2 separate regions of the Homo sapiens genome follow, and region 1 is linked to region 2. The links are contacts of gene promoters, found by promoter capture Hi-C in blood cells and fetal thymus (Javierre and others, 2016). All regions are on one chromosome and are shown on one strand. The core of a region is centred on a gene start or on the middle of the fragment in contact, and the rest is flanking DNA. Distances in the headings are between cores, read along the strand shown.

The links. Contacts are between HindIII fragments. The CHiCAGO score rates a contact against its expected background, and 5 or more counts as called.
Region 1: a contact is called between the fragment with the promoter of DPH3 here and the fragment with the promoter of RAB5A in region 2, in 1 of 17 cell types (fetal thymus). The highest score is 5.3, in fetal thymus.

What each region holds. Positions count from the first base shown.
Region 1 is chr3:16,261,776-16,266,245 of GRCh38, forward strand. DPH3 (diphthamide biosynthesis 3) reads right to left here and starts at 3,168. Exons shown (of 3, transcript NM_206831.3): 1 at 2,994-3,168; 2 at 2,380-2,454. The coding sequence starts at 3,101. OXNAD1 (oxidoreductase NAD binding domain containing 1) reads left to right here and starts at 3,437. Exons shown (of 9, transcript NM_138381.5): 1 at 3,437-3,730. RefSeq lists an enhancer at 3,000-3,309. The HindIII fragment of the contact is 11,235 bases long and covers 1-3,334 here.
Region 2 is chr3:19,945,479-19,949,675 of GRCh38, forward strand. It overlaps RAB5A (RAB5A, member RAS oncogene family), which reads left to right and starts at 1,619. Exons shown (of 6, transcript NM_004162.5): 1 at 1,619-2,043. It also overlaps a transcript of EFHB not described here. RefSeq lists enhancers at 500-1,101, 1,512-1,681, 1,607-1,776, 1,638-1,687, 2,208-2,257 and 1 more. The HindIII fragment of the contact is 3,439 bases long and covers 1-2,006 here.

The DNA of each region.
Region 1 (4,470 bases), core at 1,918-4,417, 3.7 Mb before region 2:
ACCAGAGGGATTGGAAGTGGGGCTAGTTCCTCCTTTTTGCCTCCATTCTCCTTTCCTGTCTAAAACCCATCAGTTTAGAATCTTATGTCTTGAGACTACCGCCTTGCTATTCTTCTCTGTTGCTGTCATTTATCCACCCTGGATGCCATATTCCAACCCCTCTGGACCTCCACCATATTCATCCTACCACCCTTTCACTGCCCCTCACTCCCTTCATGTTCTCTTTACCTAGTTCAAACTCCATGGTCAGTTATAACCACTCTTCTCTCACTCCTTACTATTCACTTGGGAAAACCTTAAACCTGGTTAAATCTAACTTTCCATGTCTATATTCACTAATGAAGGCTGAATTTCTACCACCTTAAACCCTCTCTTGATCCTCTATCACCACTGGTTACTGTCCCATGTCTGTGCTCTCCTTTGCAGCAAACTCCTTAAAAGAAATGCCTATACTCACTGCCTTCTGTTCTCTCATTCTCTCCAACCAGTATTCTGCCCATTGGTTTCTTCACTCATGCGCTGTTCCTGTTACTCCATGGAAACTGCTCTCATCTCCGTCACAGATGAACTCAGTGTTGCTAAAGCTAATGGTTAATTCTTGATTGCTTCCTATCAGTGTCACGTGACAAGGATCACCACTTCCTCAATCCTTTCTCATCTGGTTTCCAGGATTTGACACTGCTGATTTTCCTCCTTTCTCAGTGGTTTCTCCTTTACCATCAGCTTTGGTGATTCCTCGCTTCCCTCCCTGACTTTTTAATACTGTAGTGCCTTAAGGCTCAGTCCTGTATTTTATCCATCTCTACATTCACAGACCTGGTGGTCTCATCCAATCTCATGGCTCTAAATGCTATCTGTTACTGATAACTCCCAAATTGACATTGCTAGCCAATCTCTCTCATGAACGCCAGACATGCATATCCAATTGCCTTCTCAACAGCTCAACTTGGATGACAGACCTCTCACTTAGTATGTACAATTTCAACCCCTATACCTATAGTTACATTCCCTCAATTGACAGTAACTCCATCCTCCCAGTTATTAAGGTCACAAATATTGAAATCATCCTTGTCTCACTCCTTCACACCCTATATCCAATCAGTTATTCAAAGCGTATCCAGAATCTAAGTACTTCTCATTATTTCCATTGCTGTAACCAGGTCCAAGCCACCCATCTCCTTCTTTAATTAGTGTAATAGCCTCCTATTACACTGGTTTTCCTGTTTCTATGCTTGCTCTCTATAGGCTACTCTGAACACAGCAGCCAGAATCATTTTTTAAAAAACTTAAGTTGGATCATAGCACTCCTATGTTCAAAAATCCCCCAATGGTTCCCTATATCACTCACAACAAGAGCCTAAGTCCTTAAAGTGATCCACAACTTCTTACGCTACTCTCATCCTGCTCTGCTCTGGTCACACTGGCCTCCTTTTTGTTCCTTGATAAAATCAGGCATGTTCCTGTCTTAGGTCCCCTTCACTGAACGATCCTTTGCTCGACTCTCTTACCTCATACCCTCATATGTACATGGCTCACTCCCTCACCTCCTTCAAATCTTTACCTATTAAGGCCTTTCTCAGTAAGGCCTGCCATGATCACCCTATGGAAAACTGCAACTTCCTCCCAGACCAGCACTCCTGATCTTCCTTACCGTTTGCTTTCTGTTGCAGAGCACATTTTAATACAAGAATGAATCATTATATTTCTAAATTATAGTCTAAATTATAGCCCGCTTCTCTCATGAGGCTCTGTGCCTCATCCCCACTTTCCCTATATTCATTTTGGACTTCATCCTTGAGAGTGTTAAGGTCCTTACCTAAGATTCCATTCCAAGTACTGAACAAAACTTTGGGTAGGAGTGGGCAGTAATAACATTTTTTTTTTCTATTGTCAACATCCTTGGGTGAAAGATAATAGGGCAACTAAAGACTAAAATGAAATTGTAAAGCTGCACCTAGGAATTATATCTCAAACAAGATAATGCAGAATTCTGTGTATAAGCCAGCACGAAATACCATACAATTGTTCCCTTCAAAGTAAGTCTAGCAGCTCTAAACAATTTTAATTACATATTAAATAGAAGAGAAATATAAAAAATTGTCCACTAAAATAATCTATATACTTTCTATTTAATAAATAATAATTTTCACTAAAGCTAGATTTATCTCTAAAGCTAAAATAAATTACGTAATCTGAACTTTAAACGTTTTAATTTACTATTCGGCTGTTTATCAATGGTGTTTAAAACCTGCCTAAAAAAATACCGCACTTTACCTAGCACAATGAAACATTCTCCTGCACTCATCACTGACAAGCTGATCTAAGTCCTTGCCACTGACTTACAATACCCTTCCCCCGTTTTAAAATTATATCCCTTACTTTGTCATAAATCACTTTTATAATGAGAGAGCAGCTAGGACACGTTGCCACGTCTTCCCCATTCTCCAAATCTTCCTACAACGAAATCAAATACCATGTGGTCAGGATAGCTTCTCTTCGCCATCTCCTCCCCCAAACCTATCCCACCCCTAGATGCAAGTCTCTTGGTGGCTTGCCTTCCCCCCAAGGTGGGTGAGAACCCCAGGGCCTTCAGCGAGAAATGCCGACATCATTTTCCCCTAGAAGCGTCACTTAGGGGAAACACCTAGGAAGGTCAGGCGAGCTTCGGTCGCCCCAAAAGCCCTGGGAAACAAAAAACGAGTCCCCTCCTCGACAGAAATATCCCAGGTTGGGACCCTAAGGCAGGGATCGGGCAGAGAGACAGAGGCTCTCCGCCACCCTCTCCCTGACCTAATCTAAGGCCAGAACTGCGTGCCTACCGAGAGAGCTCAGGGCATTAGTTGGGGTGGGGGGACGCGGGAGGAGGAAGATTCAGCAACGGGAAAGAGGGCGTGGGTGACACAGCGCAGCAAAGGCTACCCAATGATGGAAGGAACGGGCGGAACCAAACTGCGCTTGCTTGGGTGAACCGCCGGGCGGGACCCTGAAGTTACCTTGGTGATGGAGAAGTTATCTCCACATGGGCAGGGATAGAAATACGTCTCCGAGTCCTCGTCATATTGGAAGTCCTCGATTTCCACCTCGTCATGAAACACTGCCATGGTCAGCGGGGGTGGCCGAAGGGGTAACGCCCCAGCAGTCCGAGGCCAGCTCCGAGGGTTTAACTTCGCCGGAACCGGCCTGGGCTCGGCATCATCAGGTCGCGCCGGGCAAGGACTAGCCCTTCCGGCGCATAGGCAATGACGCAACTCCGCCCTGCGCGGCCAAATGGATAACCGGTAGCGGTCACCATGGAGATGGCTGAACTAGGGGCGGAGACACTGGGAAGACTGAAAGCTTGCTCAGCGGGGTCGCGCACCGCTCCTCCTATTGGGCGGCAGCGACCAATAGAATGTGGGGCTCGCCCGCGCTGCTACGTCACGTCTGGGACCGCGGAGTATTCCAGGCGCCTGCAACTAAACGTGGCCGGGTCTGCAAGCTAGGTGCCAGCGGGGAAAGTTTCCCTGCTTCTTATCGTCTGCTTTAACGCCTTAAATAGCCCGCTGAAGGCTGCAGCAGGTGCTAGGTAGCAGCCTCCCGGCCCTCGGGAAAGGCGGGGTGGGGAGGCGAGAGCAGCTTAGCCTCCTCGACCTCCCTTCCTGGTGACGGACGAACAGTTCCCGTAGAATTTCGCTTCACCGAGTGACCTTGAGCCCAGGGCGACGGTCAGCTTGTTAATTCCTGGCTGCAGGTACATTCCGCTTCTTCCTCACCCCAGACGCCTTAAAATACCCTAAATTGTGTTGCTGAAAGGACCAAGCCCTGGAAGGCAGGGATTGAGTTCTAGTCTTCTGTTTGCCAGGCTTATAACATTATTAACGACGATGATTTTTAGTAATAGTAATAACATCACCTTTTATTATTGGGAAGTTATGTGCCAGCTATTGCACTAAGTGGAATTGTCAACTCTAGGAGTTTACATGTTATTCCATTTTATTAATCTTTAAACTGAGGTACAGAGAGTTGGGCATCTTGACTAAAATCATACACCTGGGAAATAATGAAGAGCTTGTCTGTCTCCAAAGCCCAGGAACAAATTACTTATGTGAGTACCAGTTTTTTCGTTGTGAAAGAAATGGTGTCAGTAGGCAGGTTTATCAGTGTGAGGCCTATGTATGCCTTGAAGCGAAATGCAGATAAAAGGCATTTTTGTCTTGAAAGCAGTGCTAGTGCCTGTTTTGGTAAAACCGATTACATTGGGTCTTACTTAATTACTAGGCATTTTAATATCTTAGTAGAGAAGAAATGCATTGTAGTGAAAAAGCACTTTCGAGAGAAGATCTGGGATCGGAATCTTGAGTTGTTGATTACCTCTGGCAACTGGATATTTACATTCTTTGGGCCTTATTTCCTCTTCTAAGAAAGGATTGGAGTAGAGATGATATAAGATCCTTTTTAGATGTAATGTTCCACTTTTGCACGGAAATTATG
Region 2 (4,197 bases), core at 369-2,868:
GACAATGGTTTGTGAGGAGAAGAAAGAGGTGAAGCTGATTCTGCAGTTCCAAGTCTGGGTGACTGGGAGGATGTTAATGCCAGTCTCTAAGCAGAAGCAGGTTTGGAGTGGAATAGGTTTCGTTTTGGGCATACTGTTGACATGACAAAACTGATGTCACATATCCTATTTCCTGACTCCTCCTGGGATTGTCCCAGAGCTATTACCATGATTAATAGTTCATATTGAACAACTCCTTGAGAATAAAATGCCACAGGTATCATTTACGTATGACACATTACGTTCTTCTGGCAACTAGGTAGTTGATCTGAAAGACGGGCTGTTCAAAGTTCAAATCATCTTAATTGCACAATGCCGCCGACTGTACGCCCATAAGATACCTTAACCCGGTACACTTCAAAGACAATATTCTCGCCCTTACAACAGAGCTATACATTGTAAACTGCAAACTGAAAAGTAGCCTTTATTCTGAAGGAAAATCAATTTAATATTCTTCCACTAAATTATCAAAACAATTTTTTTGGCGGAGGCTGGGGAGGGGGTGGTGGCTGAAGCCTCGCCAGAGACTGAATGTGGTGTGGGATTCAACTAAAGCAGCACATCTTCAGTAGGTCCCCCGTGGAGGGTAACGAACATCTTGGGTTGTCTTTCACCAGAATTGTGTTCAACAACTCACGTTCTGGAGCCAACCCGCCGCAGATCAGAATCCAGCTTCTGCACCACACAGCCGTGATCTCGGACAAGTTACTCAATCTCTTGTGTCTCAAATTCTTTACCTATAAAACATCTACAACTAGAACTGAAGACTTGGCTGCCAGGCACTGGGCTAGACATAGATTTACAGCGGTGAGGACCACCAAGGGGAGCTAAAATTCGAATGTAGGGAACAGACGATTAACAAGTTAGTTTCAGAATGAAAGACTCGAGTGTAAGAATTCAATGGGATAATTCCTGTAAAGCGTTTAGTACAGTAAAGAGCGAAGGGAAATTCTGAATAAAAGGCAGACACTATTTTAGGATTTGGCCTTCCCCGCCCCCTACCAAAACCACGTAAACTCTTAACAGAAGCGACTTCTTATTGTCAGGCGCCTAAAGGCGGCTTTTGGGATAGGGAGGGTCCTTTCTTCCTCCTTGGGGTAAATGCGATTTAGCAGCCTTTACCGACCTACCCAACCCCAGGGCCATTTTGTGGGAGGAGGTTCTCTCGTGCTAGACAAGTTCCCTCTAATAAAGCCCCTTAGCCGAGATGCCAGGATTGGGGTTAGGGAACCTCGCCGCTCCCACAAGGGCTGGGCACAAAAAACAAACAAAAAAACACAAGTTATTTTGATCTTCCCCCAAAGAATAGTAAAGGAATTTCCCCCGACCCCGGCCGCCAGGAGCCCAGAGACCCCCCAGCCTAAATAACAATGGCGCTGGAGAGGGCGTGGCCGCGCGTACCTGGGGTGGGGGAAGGGGAGAAAGGCGGCCAGTTCGGATCTGAGCCACTCGCAGGGTCACGTGACATCCTGCCTCGCCCCGCCCCGCGAACAAACCTAGGCGGGGAGGGATTCGGGAAGGGGCGAGGAAGCGGAAGGAGCAGGCGGACTGGCGATGATGGGAAGTGACGAAGTGGCGCAGTTCGCTGCGTGCAGCGACGTGGCGGCGGGGCCGGCACCGGGCAGCGGAAGTGGCTCCGGCGGTGGGACTTGAGTGTTTGTGTTTTGGTTCGTGAAGGAGCCGGCGGCTGGCCTTAGGGGAGGAGGCAGAGGGAGGAGGAGGAGGAAGAATTAGTCGGAACTCCAGCGCCGGCGGCGGCGGCGGCGGCGGAGGAGGAGAAAGGAAAGAGGAAGGGGGAGCGGCGAGAGGCGGAGACGGAGCCCGACAGGGGCGGCACCACGGCACGAGCCCCGCACAGTCCAGTGTGAGGGGAGCGGCGCTAAGAGCAGGCGACGCCGCCGCCGCCACCACCACCGCCATAGATACACTCTCATCCTACGGGCCACGCCTGGGCCTTGCTGCCAGGAAGCTTCGGCCCCGCAGCTCGGCTTGCTGCGGTCTCAGGTAACCGAACCGCCCCTCCTCCTGCGCAGCGGGGGCCTGGACCCCAGGTTATCCGCGGTCCCCAGCCTGTCCGCGGCCCTGCCGGTACTGAGACCCCCCACCCCTTCTCCCTCACGCGCAGCAGTGCCCTGGACCAGAGAACTATCGAACCCGGCGTCTTGTTCTGCCAGCCCTGGTGACTCATCCTCCAGGGGCTCTGGAGACCGGGATTTGGGGACTGACTGAGGGAGCGACGGGTGTCACCCTTTCCCTTCTCAAGATGGCGCCGTGGAAAGTGTACTGGAGGCCGCGGTTCCGCCTGGTCTCCGTCCTGGCAGTCCTGGGGGTCTCGGTCAAAGCAAGGCAGGTTCGGGGGAGGAGGTTGGAAAGGCCAAGGGACCTGGCGAGTGCTGCTTATCCAGGCGATCTGTAGTTGGCTATTAGCTACTCAGGTGCTCTCCAAGCAGGAACCTGGGCCTACTGCAGGTGTCAATGTGGGGAGCTCCGCCTATCTTCAACTTCCAAAGATGAGTAGTGTCGGTGGGTGGGAGGCTCGTCAAAATAGGCTGTCTAGAGACTTGTTTTCTGTTTGGAAGGTAGTGAACTACAGCGTTAAATAAATTCAAGATAACAGGACCGCTGAACTCCTTCACTGGGTAGAGACCATGGAACTTGCTCTGGCGTTATCTTCCCTGGAAGCTGCTTACCTCTGAGACTTTCAAACTTGTTAAGTTCTGAACGTCATAGTTCACATACTTGGTTTTTGTCTTGCTTAAATGGAATCAAAGCGTTCAATCAGTTGCCTTTCACATAATAAGAAAAAAACACTTGTACACCTCTGGGAATACTCAAGACTGCTCATAAACTTTATTCCTAAAGTAAAATGGAAGTGATAACTCAGCATTTGTATAAACAAAGTAAATGGAACAGTGCCTGGCACAAAATAAGTGCCCAGTCAATTTTTTGATCAAAGAACCCTTAGAAGGATTTTAACTATAGAATGAATAACAGTTATTTTCAAAAGATTACAAATGTATATTATGCAAAATTCTTGTTTTGCAAAACAGAAGTTTCAGTAAGCAGTGAATACAAATGAATGCACGTAATTTTTAACCTTAGTGTTATGCTAAGTGTATATTTACCATTAACTTTAGTTATTTCCTGTTTGAGATCCTTAGGGGGAGTAGCCACAATTAAGTAGCTTTAAACCTTAAAAGTCAAAGTGAAATCAGAATCTTGTTTGATTTTTTTTTTTAATGGGAGTCTGATATTTTCCCTAAAATTTTGGAAGTGCCGTAGAAATTTGGAGCATATTGTCCTTGATAAGTAATTTCTTGTTTTCTTAAATAAAAAGACAAATGGAAAATGTTTTGATTGTGTGTAATATCTGAAGATGTATTGGTGCATTTTCAGTATATATGATGTTCTATTGATATTTTATCATTTTCTTATCAAAGGAGCACATTATTGGCAATTTCAATCCCTACTATGTATATTAGAGATTGTTTACATGTATTGTTTTATTTAATTGTCACATCAGCTATGCAAGTTAGATATTATGGGAATAGAAACTTGGAAATTAAAGAGTTTGCCCAGACGGAAATTGGTATAGCCAGGATTACACCCCTAAATCTGGTATGTTTGTGGAGGAGGGGGCATTTTTATTTATACCTTGTTATTTGGAAGCAACTCAGATATTACGTCAATAAATCTGTAAATATTTCAGTATGTAATGGTAAAAGATAAGGACTCTAAAAAGCTGGTGTTTAGTTAAGGCAAGGAGGTAGTTTCATTGCCTTAAGAACTAAGATCTCGTGGACATGTTAGGGAATTCATTATGAAGAGCGTATTATAAGCTCATTTTATGGGAAAGGCATATTTCTTTCTTTTGTTTTTAATATAGAGACAGGGTCTCACTGTGTTGCCCAGGCTGGTCTCAGAGTCCTCCTGCCTCACCCCCAAAGTGTTGGGATTTACCGGTATAAGCCACTCTGTCCAGTGTGAAAGACGTATTTCTTATATGAGGTAGCTAAATGAAATATAGCAGGGTTTTTAGAGAGGGAATCATCAGGTTTAATATATTAGCATGTATTCGGATTTTGATTAAAGATAGAAGGAAACTGTTAAGATTGGTTTGTGAGTGGATTGAAAAAGGTTCTTCAAATATTCACTAAT